Regions from separate parts of the Homo sapiens genome. Here regions 1 and 2 are each linked to region 3. Evidence: promoter capture Hi-C in 16 types of primary human blood cells and fetal thymus (Javierre and others, 2016). All regions are on one chromosome and are shown on one strand. Each heading gives the region's core, a stretch centred on a gene start or on the middle of the fragment in contact. The rest is flanking DNA. Distances are from core to core; before and after follow the strand shown. Region 1 holds the start of MORC1 (MORC family CW-type zinc finger 1). Region 2 holds the start of MORC1-AS1 (MORC1 antisense RNA 1). Region 3 holds the start of DPPA4 (developmental pluripotency associated 4).

The links. The method cuts DNA at HindIII sites, captures the fragments that hold promoters and counts their contacts. A CHiCAGO score of 5 or more calls a contact.
Region 1: a contact is called between the fragment with the promoter of MORC1 here and the fragment with the promoter of DPPA4 in region 3, in 5 of 17 cell types (non-activated CD4 T cells, activated CD4 T cells, neutrophils and 2 more). The highest score is 6.7, in non-activated CD4 T cells.
Region 2: a contact is called between the fragment with the promoter of MORC1-AS1 here and the fragment with the promoter of DPPA4 in region 3, in 16 of 17 cell types (neutrophils, activated CD4 T cells, naive CD8 T cells and 13 more). The highest score is 17.3, in neutrophils.

Annotation. Positions count from the first base shown.
Region 1 is chr3:109,116,849-109,119,548 of GRCh38, reverse strand. MORC1 (MORC family CW-type zinc finger 1) reads left to right here and starts at 1,415. Exons shown (of 28, transcript NM_014429.4): 1 at 1,415-1,554. The coding sequence starts at 1,490. The HindIII fragment of the contact is 4,037 bases long and covers 80-2,700 here.
Region 2 is chr3:109,100,113-109,102,812 of GRCh38, reverse strand. MORC1-AS1 (MORC1 antisense RNA 1) reads right to left here and starts at 1,357. Exons shown (of 3, transcript NR_144461.1): 1 at 1,254-1,357. MORC1 (MORC family CW-type zinc finger 1) reads left to right here. Exons shown (of 28, transcript NM_014429.4): 5 at 2,306-2,396. The HindIII fragment of the contact is 2,885 bases long and covers 1-2,313 here.
Region 3 is chr3:109,336,216-109,338,915 of GRCh38, reverse strand. DPPA4 (developmental pluripotency associated 4) reads left to right here and starts at 1,370. Exons shown (of 7, transcript NM_018189.4): 1 at 1,370-1,452. The coding sequence starts at 1,399. RefSeq lists enhancers at 1-46, 1,265-1,872, 1,873-2,481, 2,482-2,700. The HindIII fragment of the contact is 8,399 bases long and covers 1-2,700 here.

The sequences.
Region 1 (2,700 bases), core at 166-2,665, 220 kb after region 3:
CTCTTCCGATAGTAAATTGCTTTGAGATAGCAGCTGGAAATTGGGTAGTAAAATAAATCCAGAAGAGACTTGTCAAGCTTTTCTTGCTCATAAAATGAAAATAAAATATCGTATTTGTGAAGTTCTATAGAAGGAAAAATTGGAAAGATCGCTCAAGTTGCTTAGTAAAGAGAATTTTGCTGTCAAAACATCACCACATCAGCCACTGTTAAAACAAAAATGCAATCAGGAAAATTACTTGAAATGTTTATGTTTACTTCCAGTTTTGAAATTAGAACATCATGTTCCTTCGGGTTGCCATTCAAATTCTCTCTTCCTCTCCTGATTCCCATAAATGTAGTAGTTGATAAACTCCTCTCTTTGGAAGTAGAATGACTACTCCAAAACTATTTTTTTTTTCTTTTCTGAGAGCTTCACTGCCTGTATGATGCCTGGAAATTACAAACACATCTAGTTCAAGTTCTTTATTTAATAGATGTTTGTTTCTGACTTTATGACTATCATGTAAAATCTTTGCTGAGTATTATTGAACTACCTTGGTTTCCAAGTCAAAAGACATTGAATCAGCTTGGGTTTTGGTGACTTAAGAACTCAGGGCTTTGTGAGTAGAGAAACACCATTTATTTATACAGCTGTTCTACACATCTGCGCAGTCCTTCCTCATATTTATCTACCCGCCCCAACCCCGCACCCCTACCTTCTACCTGCCTAGTTCTATCTTTTGGAGCAATACCGAATATCTAGGCATTGAGCCAGGCCAGCAAGTGCAATAGTCGCATGTCAGCTGACAGGTAAAAAAGGTTAGTGATCCATTCAGGTGGGGGCAGCTATTCTCACCTAGGGACAAGCCGCTATATTAAAGTCCAAATTCTGTTCTGATTGTCTTTAGTTATTCCTTTTGTTTTCTCTCCGGCTTGTCACTTTTGTTTTTCATTTTTTCCTCCAAATAGAAAAAACATGATCAACTCAAGAGACACAGGAAGGTAAGTGCTAGGATTACAGGACAGAGCACTCTTACCTCTGGTTCTATGTAACACAATGGACAAGCAAAGAGAACTACCCACTCACCTTCCCCGCACTGTCCTGCCTTGCCGCCCACGTTCCCCCACCATCTTGTGTGAATGTGTAATCATTTCGAATCAAATTTTAATACCAGTTTTGGGCTCCATTTTCCAGCTGGGGAGTGATTGAGAGGAGCAGGGTGGGGAACAACCGTCTGAAAAAGTTACATAAACCTCAATTCCAGGAGACTCTAACTCAGATACGTCATTCTCAAATTGTGGCTCCAAGACCAAGCAACAAACCTCGCGAGACAACTGAGTCGACGACGCAGTGGGAGCTTCGCGGTCCCGCCGCAAGGGGGAGCACGTGTTTGCTGAACCCGCCCTCTGCGCGTGAGCGTGGGCGTGGGAGTGGGCGCGGGCGCAGGCGAACGGCTGCCGGTCAGGTGTCCTTGTCCCCTTGAGTTGCGCGGGTCGTGTTCGAGGGCATGGACGACAGGTACCCTGCGCTTCAGCGGGCCCAGCTGCGTCTGGATTTCATCCACGCCAACTCGTGAGTGCCGAGGTGGGGTCGGGGTCGGGGAGGGTCTCTGCGCCCGCCATGAAGAAAGGTTTTGCCCGTCCCCTGAGGAATACTCAGCAAGTGAACTTGATTTATGGATTTATTTATTTATTTGAGCTGTATAGGCTTTTTTTAAAACGATGAAAGCATAATAAAGATATATTCTGGGCCAGGCTGAACCCTTTAGGTGCTCTTCAGTGAACACCAAGTGGTTGGAAGGCCCTACATTTATCATTTAACACAACTGTTTAATTGTTGGTCAGCAGAACTGTGATTCTACCAATCCTGCCTAACCTTAGTCTGCCTAACACACTGACAATTTAAACATTAAAGTTGCCCTTCAAACAGAGTAATTTGCATATATTGATTTCAAACTCTATGGCCTCCTGAGTCTTTTCAAAAATGTAACCTCTCTAAGGATAGGAATCTCACCTTTTAGTTATTTGGTCATTTCTTCTTCTCTGCCATGCCTGTCTGCCTTTTAGAGCTTCTCAGGTGTCATTTCAGATAGTCAGATTGCAGAGGGGAATGACAGAGGTTTTTTCTCTCATCTGCCATTTCCCATACAGCAAATTATAGCAGTTAGTGCTATTTAATTCACAGTGGAACGTCCGGGTTTTTCTTTATGTTTCTTTTTTTTTTTTTTTTTTTTTTGACATCTTTTGGTAATTTGGATTTACTAAATATAGGAACAGATATCAGGGATGTACCAAATTTGAAACCACAGAAATGGAGGTATAAAGAAAGCCAGGGAAGGCCACCCTTGCTCTGTGGGACAGACTGTATAATTTTAACATAGCAGAGTTAAACAGGCAATATTCAGCAGATACTCAGTTTTCATCTCTCTTTAGAGAATGATGTCAAGCTGGAAAAGGTGGAACAAAAAGTTAAAAGGTAGCTGAGGTGGAAGACAAATGAAGAAATAATAGTTTCGAGTGAGTTTAAGAAAAATGCTCAGGGCAGTGCTGGAAGGACTGTGAATTTTATCTCAGAAAAATTCCTCAGCCTCAGTTTTATATGGATTTTGTGGCTACTGCTTCACAACCTCCATTCCCCCAAACCACCCTGTGGTAGCCACTTCCCCAGTACCATTTTCAACTGGTGGTGTAGTAACTTAACAAGTGACAGTGACATGGA
Region 2 (2,700 bases), core at 108-2,607, 240 kb after region 3:
GTAATTTTTCACTTCTAGCCTGAATATTAAGTTCATTTTTTTGAATTCCTAAAATAAATGACAGAATATATGTGATATATTCTAAGGGAATTCCTTATGAAAAGAAGCAACTCTTTTTATATGGGTCATGAACAAAATGTTTGAAACACAGACAAGTGACGGATATTCAGACCTTCAGAAGGAACTCACACTTCAGTTACATAGTAGCATCAACTAGTAATAAAGTAGAAGGAAGATGACTAAAAGTAGAATCTATCCGTTGTTCAAACGGAGCTAGATCAATCTTGACCCATAGAAAATGACTACAGTACTTTCCGGGTTTTTAAAAAATTCTCTAGTCTTGCCCCTTTATAGTCCATTCCCCACACAGCATCCTGAGTGATTTTCTTTCTTTTAATGTACATTTTCCTGCTGAAAATGTACATTAATATCATTTTCCTGCTGAAAACCCTCAGTGGTTTTCCATTACTTAATACAATTTGTACTCTCAGCATCTCTTCCAAGACCTTACATTATTTGGCCCTATGCACCTCTTTGGCCTTTTCTTGTTCTTCCCACTTCCTCCCTTAGAACACTCCACCCACACATGGCTGACCCCTCATCGTTTGAATCCATCTCATGTTAACCATCTGCCAGTGGCCTTCCCTGATCATTCTGTCTGCAGGCCACGTTCCTGTTAATTCTCTATCGCATTACCCTGGTTTTGTTTTCTTCACTTAATACTCAGTCAGAAATGATCTTATTTATTAGTTTACTTTCAATCTGTTTCTCCTACCATGACATAGTGTTGTCCAAGGCAGGAGCCATGCCTGGCCTGTTCAGTGGTTTATTCCCATGCTCAGAACCGGGTAACCATGCACGTGAGTTCATGTAGTGTGTAATGAACACATGGGATTTGGTTCAGAGCTATACCATGTCTGTACCAAGACTTAGAACTTTGGGTTATAATCCTAGCTGTACCCTCTATCAGCTCTGTGACCTTGGGCAGGTTTTTAAAACTCCTTAGACTTACATTTGCTCATCTGTGACATGCAGGTCATAGTAATAATACCTTTCTTGTTTTGTTATAAATATTAAATAAGCTGTGCATGTAAGTATAAACATAGTACCTAGCATATACTAAACAATCAATAAGTGTTAGCTAAGATTGTCATTATGGATATCCTTACCTAATGCCTAACCCCTCATAGGAACATATCATAGGAGGTCCAGTTAGTTTCAGAGAAGCAGAATGTTTGGTGGCTTTTACACACCTCATACCATGTGCCACTGAACTATAGCATATCTGTACCCAGACTGACAGAGGGTCCTCAGGACAATTCTTCAGCATGTATTCAGGTAGGCCAACAAGAAGAACATTCTTGGTTCTGGAGATTGGTATTAATATATTCTGAAGTCCAGAGGATTACTGTCTAGAATTCCAGAATACCTGGAGAGGTCGGGAGAATGATTTGGAACGTCTGAAATGGTTAGCCTTCTTTCCCAGGTAGTATCAGAGCAGAGGTCATCCTGCCCCTCTTAGTCTCACATGGGCCTGGTTAAGGGCTAAATTCGTGGGGAAATTACTAGTGGTACAAGTAATTATAACACTTGTAATTTGGTAACACCCACCAAGTGCCAAGTTTTGTGTTCAGGATTTCACAAATACATCATCTCATTTCATTTGTTTCATTTATCTTCATCAGCAACACCGTGATATAAGTATTACGTAGTTGCCTCTTACACCACATGGAAATTAAGGCTCAGACTTTTAAACTCTACCTAAGGCCACATGGTTAGGTCTGTCTCATCTCTTTCAGTATACAGTTGTTTCTTAGTATCTGTAGGGAATGGATTCCAGGACCTTTCTAGGATACCAAAAGCTGTGGAAAGAAGATGGCACGGTATTTCCGTATAACCTATATATATCCTCCTGTATACTTTAAATCTTTTCCAGGTTCCTTATAATACCCAATGCAGTGTAAATGCTATTAAATAGTTGTTATACTTTGTTGTTTAGAGAATAATGACAAAAAAAAAGTCTGTACGTGGTCAGTCCAGACGCAATTTATTTTTTTCTGAATATTTTCAGTCCAAGATTAGTTGAGTCTATGAATGTGGAGCCTGCCGTACCTTGGGCTGACTGTAATACCATTAAGACCCTTGTCAGAGACTGTGGATTCTGATGAAAATCCTTGTCTCTGGGCTGACCCAAGAGCTATGGGTTTGTCCTGATGTTCTGAGGAATGTGAGGTCCTGACAGCTGGGCCTCAGGCCAGTGTCAAAGAGTCTTCCTAACCACCTTAAAAGTCACTGTCAATTACAGAGGAAGCTTCAGACATCATTTACTTTGGACGATCCAAAAAACGGCTGTCAACCTTGAAGTTCATAGGGCAATACGGCAATGGTCTTAAAAGGTGAGAATTTTTTTTCCCTTAAGACATATATTATTGATACTGGGAACACTGTTTATAAAGCAATTTACACAGAATGATGCAGGCATGTAAAGCTTTAAAAAATATATAAACTTGAGGCAGGGGTGACCTACTTTGTGTTGGAATCTCCATATACAAAACTGACTTTTTTTTTTTGAGACAGATTCTCACTCTGTCACCCTGGCTGGAGTGCAGTGGTGCGATCTTGGCTCACTGCAACCTCCGCCTCCTGGGTTCAAGTGATTCTCCTGCCTCAGCCTCCTGGGCAGCTGGGATTACAGGCATG
Region 3 (2,700 bases), core at 121-2,620:
CCAGCCCAGAACTCCAGTTATTCTGAATGTTACGTTCAATTACACTGACAAAAGAAAGATGATTCAGTTATACACTTTATACACAAACCTTAATTAGAAAGTCCTACTGGTGGTTACCAAAGGCTGTGGTAAAGAATTGTTAAATCAAAGCCCTAATATCTCCCAGATGACCTCAACTCACCTGGTTTCCTCTTTGCCGCCTTGGGGGTTGCCCAGTCCACAACCTGCACTTCCTTCTCTATTCCTGGGCTCCGTTTACTTACTTTTTCTGTCCGTGGATTTCTAGCCTGTGAGCAGATTACTAACACCATTTGGATAAAGACAGTCTCTTATTTATCATTTTAGGACAAGCAATGAGATGTAGGAAAAAAAAACAACAAAGTAAACCAAAGAACAAAAGAGACTTTGGACCCTGACAAGGGAGGGTTTCAGTCGCACAGCCACTGCTTCCTTCACTTCACATCTCTTGACAATCTGACAGGGAGCACTGATCTGAGGAAAGATTTTTCAAATTATTTTAAGGAGAAAAACTTGAACTTCTTTGGGAGTCAGTAGGTTAGGGGTTCACTTACTGTGCTATTGAAAAAGTTACCAATAAAAATTTATACCAACTTTAGTCATATATAAAATGGGGAACAATAATGACTGAATTTAAAACTCACAATTTGAGATATAAAAAAATACTCGGGCGGGGAGTGGTGGCTCACGCCTGTAATCCCAACACTTTGGGAGGACAAGGCTGGAGAATTACTTGAGGGCAGGAGTTCGAGACCAGCCAGGTCAAAATAGCCAGACCCCCCCACTTGCCCTCTACAAAATAAATAACAAATACTCTATAGACTTTAAAAGCTACTATTATTAGTTCGTTGGCAGATGAAAAGATGCTCGGTATTAGTACAGAGAAACCTGGAGTTTTAGTTGGTTGAGTAACTTACTTAGGAAATGGAATGTATTTGGTACGAGAAAATAGCTTTCTTCAAGCCGCCAGTCTGGTCTCTGAAGTCTACTGTTGCCACAAGTTCCATTATTAAATCCCTTCACACATCCTGCTCAAGTCTCTGGCCACTGTTTTTTTGTTTTTTGTTTTTTGTTTTTTTTCCCCGTAGAATCGTTCTGAAGGAGTGCTCAATCTCCCAATGTCTCCGGAACCATACTTTGGATAATTACATTTAAAGTGAACAGAAAAGGGCCAGGAATAGTATTAGTAATTCAACCCAGACAAAAGTCACCCCATGAATAAGAAAGAATGCAATTTTAGCATTTACAAATTGTGGGGGAGGGAACAGAAGGGGAGAAGAAAAGAAGAGGTGAGGTGGAGAGAAAAAGGGTCTTCGGGCGGCAGGAAGTGGGAGGAGACTTTGCAAATAGCAATCTTGGGGCAGGGGCCATTTTGGAAGCATGTTGCGAGGCTCCGCTTCTTCTACAAGTATGGAGAAGGCAAAAGGCAAGGAGGTCAGTACAGTTTTAGTGGATTTGTTTTCTGTCTGTCTTTGTGTTTCTGTCTTCCCTGGGCACTCCTGATTTTTCCTTTAAGGAGAAAAGAATGTGCCTTCGAATTTTCTCCTCTTGACTTTTTTTTTTTTTATTTTAAGAGTAAGGCCCAAGAATATGATTGCAGCCTGGTATATTGGAGTGAGCAGACAAGTAAGAAATGAGGTTTTCTAGGTTTAGTTGAGGAGGTTGAGTGTGTCAAAAGATGGGGAAAAAAAAAAAAGAGGCCGGGCGCGGTGGCTCACGCCTGTAATCCCAGCACTTTGGGCAGCCGAGGCGGGCGGATCACCTGAGGTCGGGAGTTCGAGACCAGCCTGACCAAAATGGAGAAACCCCGTCTCTACTAAAAGTACAAAATTAGCCAGGTGTGGTGGCGCACACCTGTAATCCCAGCTACTCGGGAGGCTGAGGCAGGAGAATCGCTTGAACCCGGGAGTCGGGGGTTGCGGTGAGCCGAGATCGCCCCATTGCACCCCCAGCTTGGGCAACCAGAGCGAAACTCCACCTCAAAAGAAAAAGTTAAAAAATTAGGTTTTCAGGTTTGTGTTTTGGAACAGGGTTTCACTTTTGTCTCCCTGGCTGGAGTGCAGTGGCACCATCACTATTCACTGTAACCGCCCAGGCTCAAACGATCCTCCCACCTCGGCTTACCAAAGTGCTACTGGGACTGCAGGCGCCCGCCGCTGCTCCCGGCCCGGGTTTTCTGTTTTGAAGAGGTGCTTAGTCCTGTCAGAAAGAACTAACTGAATATGGGGGCTAGAGGGAAATGGTAACAGGAGAAAAGGGTGTTAAAGGAAAGATTTTAGGAAGAGGTAATTGAGCTGAGTTTGGAAAAGAATGAAACCCCTTAATTTCCTTTAGACGGACACAGATCCTAAACCGAGGGTGCTGAGAATGAATTCGTCCCCTTTTCCCAGCGTCCTTAGGACCTAGGAGTAATCAGAAGCCAGACATTGGGAACAATGCAGACAGAAACTGAAGGAAGAGAGGATTTAAGACGTTGCACAGGCACTGAACGGCCATATCCGAGCGCTCTCAGGTCCTCTTGACTTGAACTGGGTCATTTTTAACTGTCTCGGTTTTAAGTCTTTTGTGAGGTCCAAAGTGAGTACTTTTTGTAAGGTTTATGCAAATATAAATTTCAAATCAAAATGTAGAACTGCTATAGAGATGTAAAAATGCCATACAAATGTTAATTTGTCCAGTAAT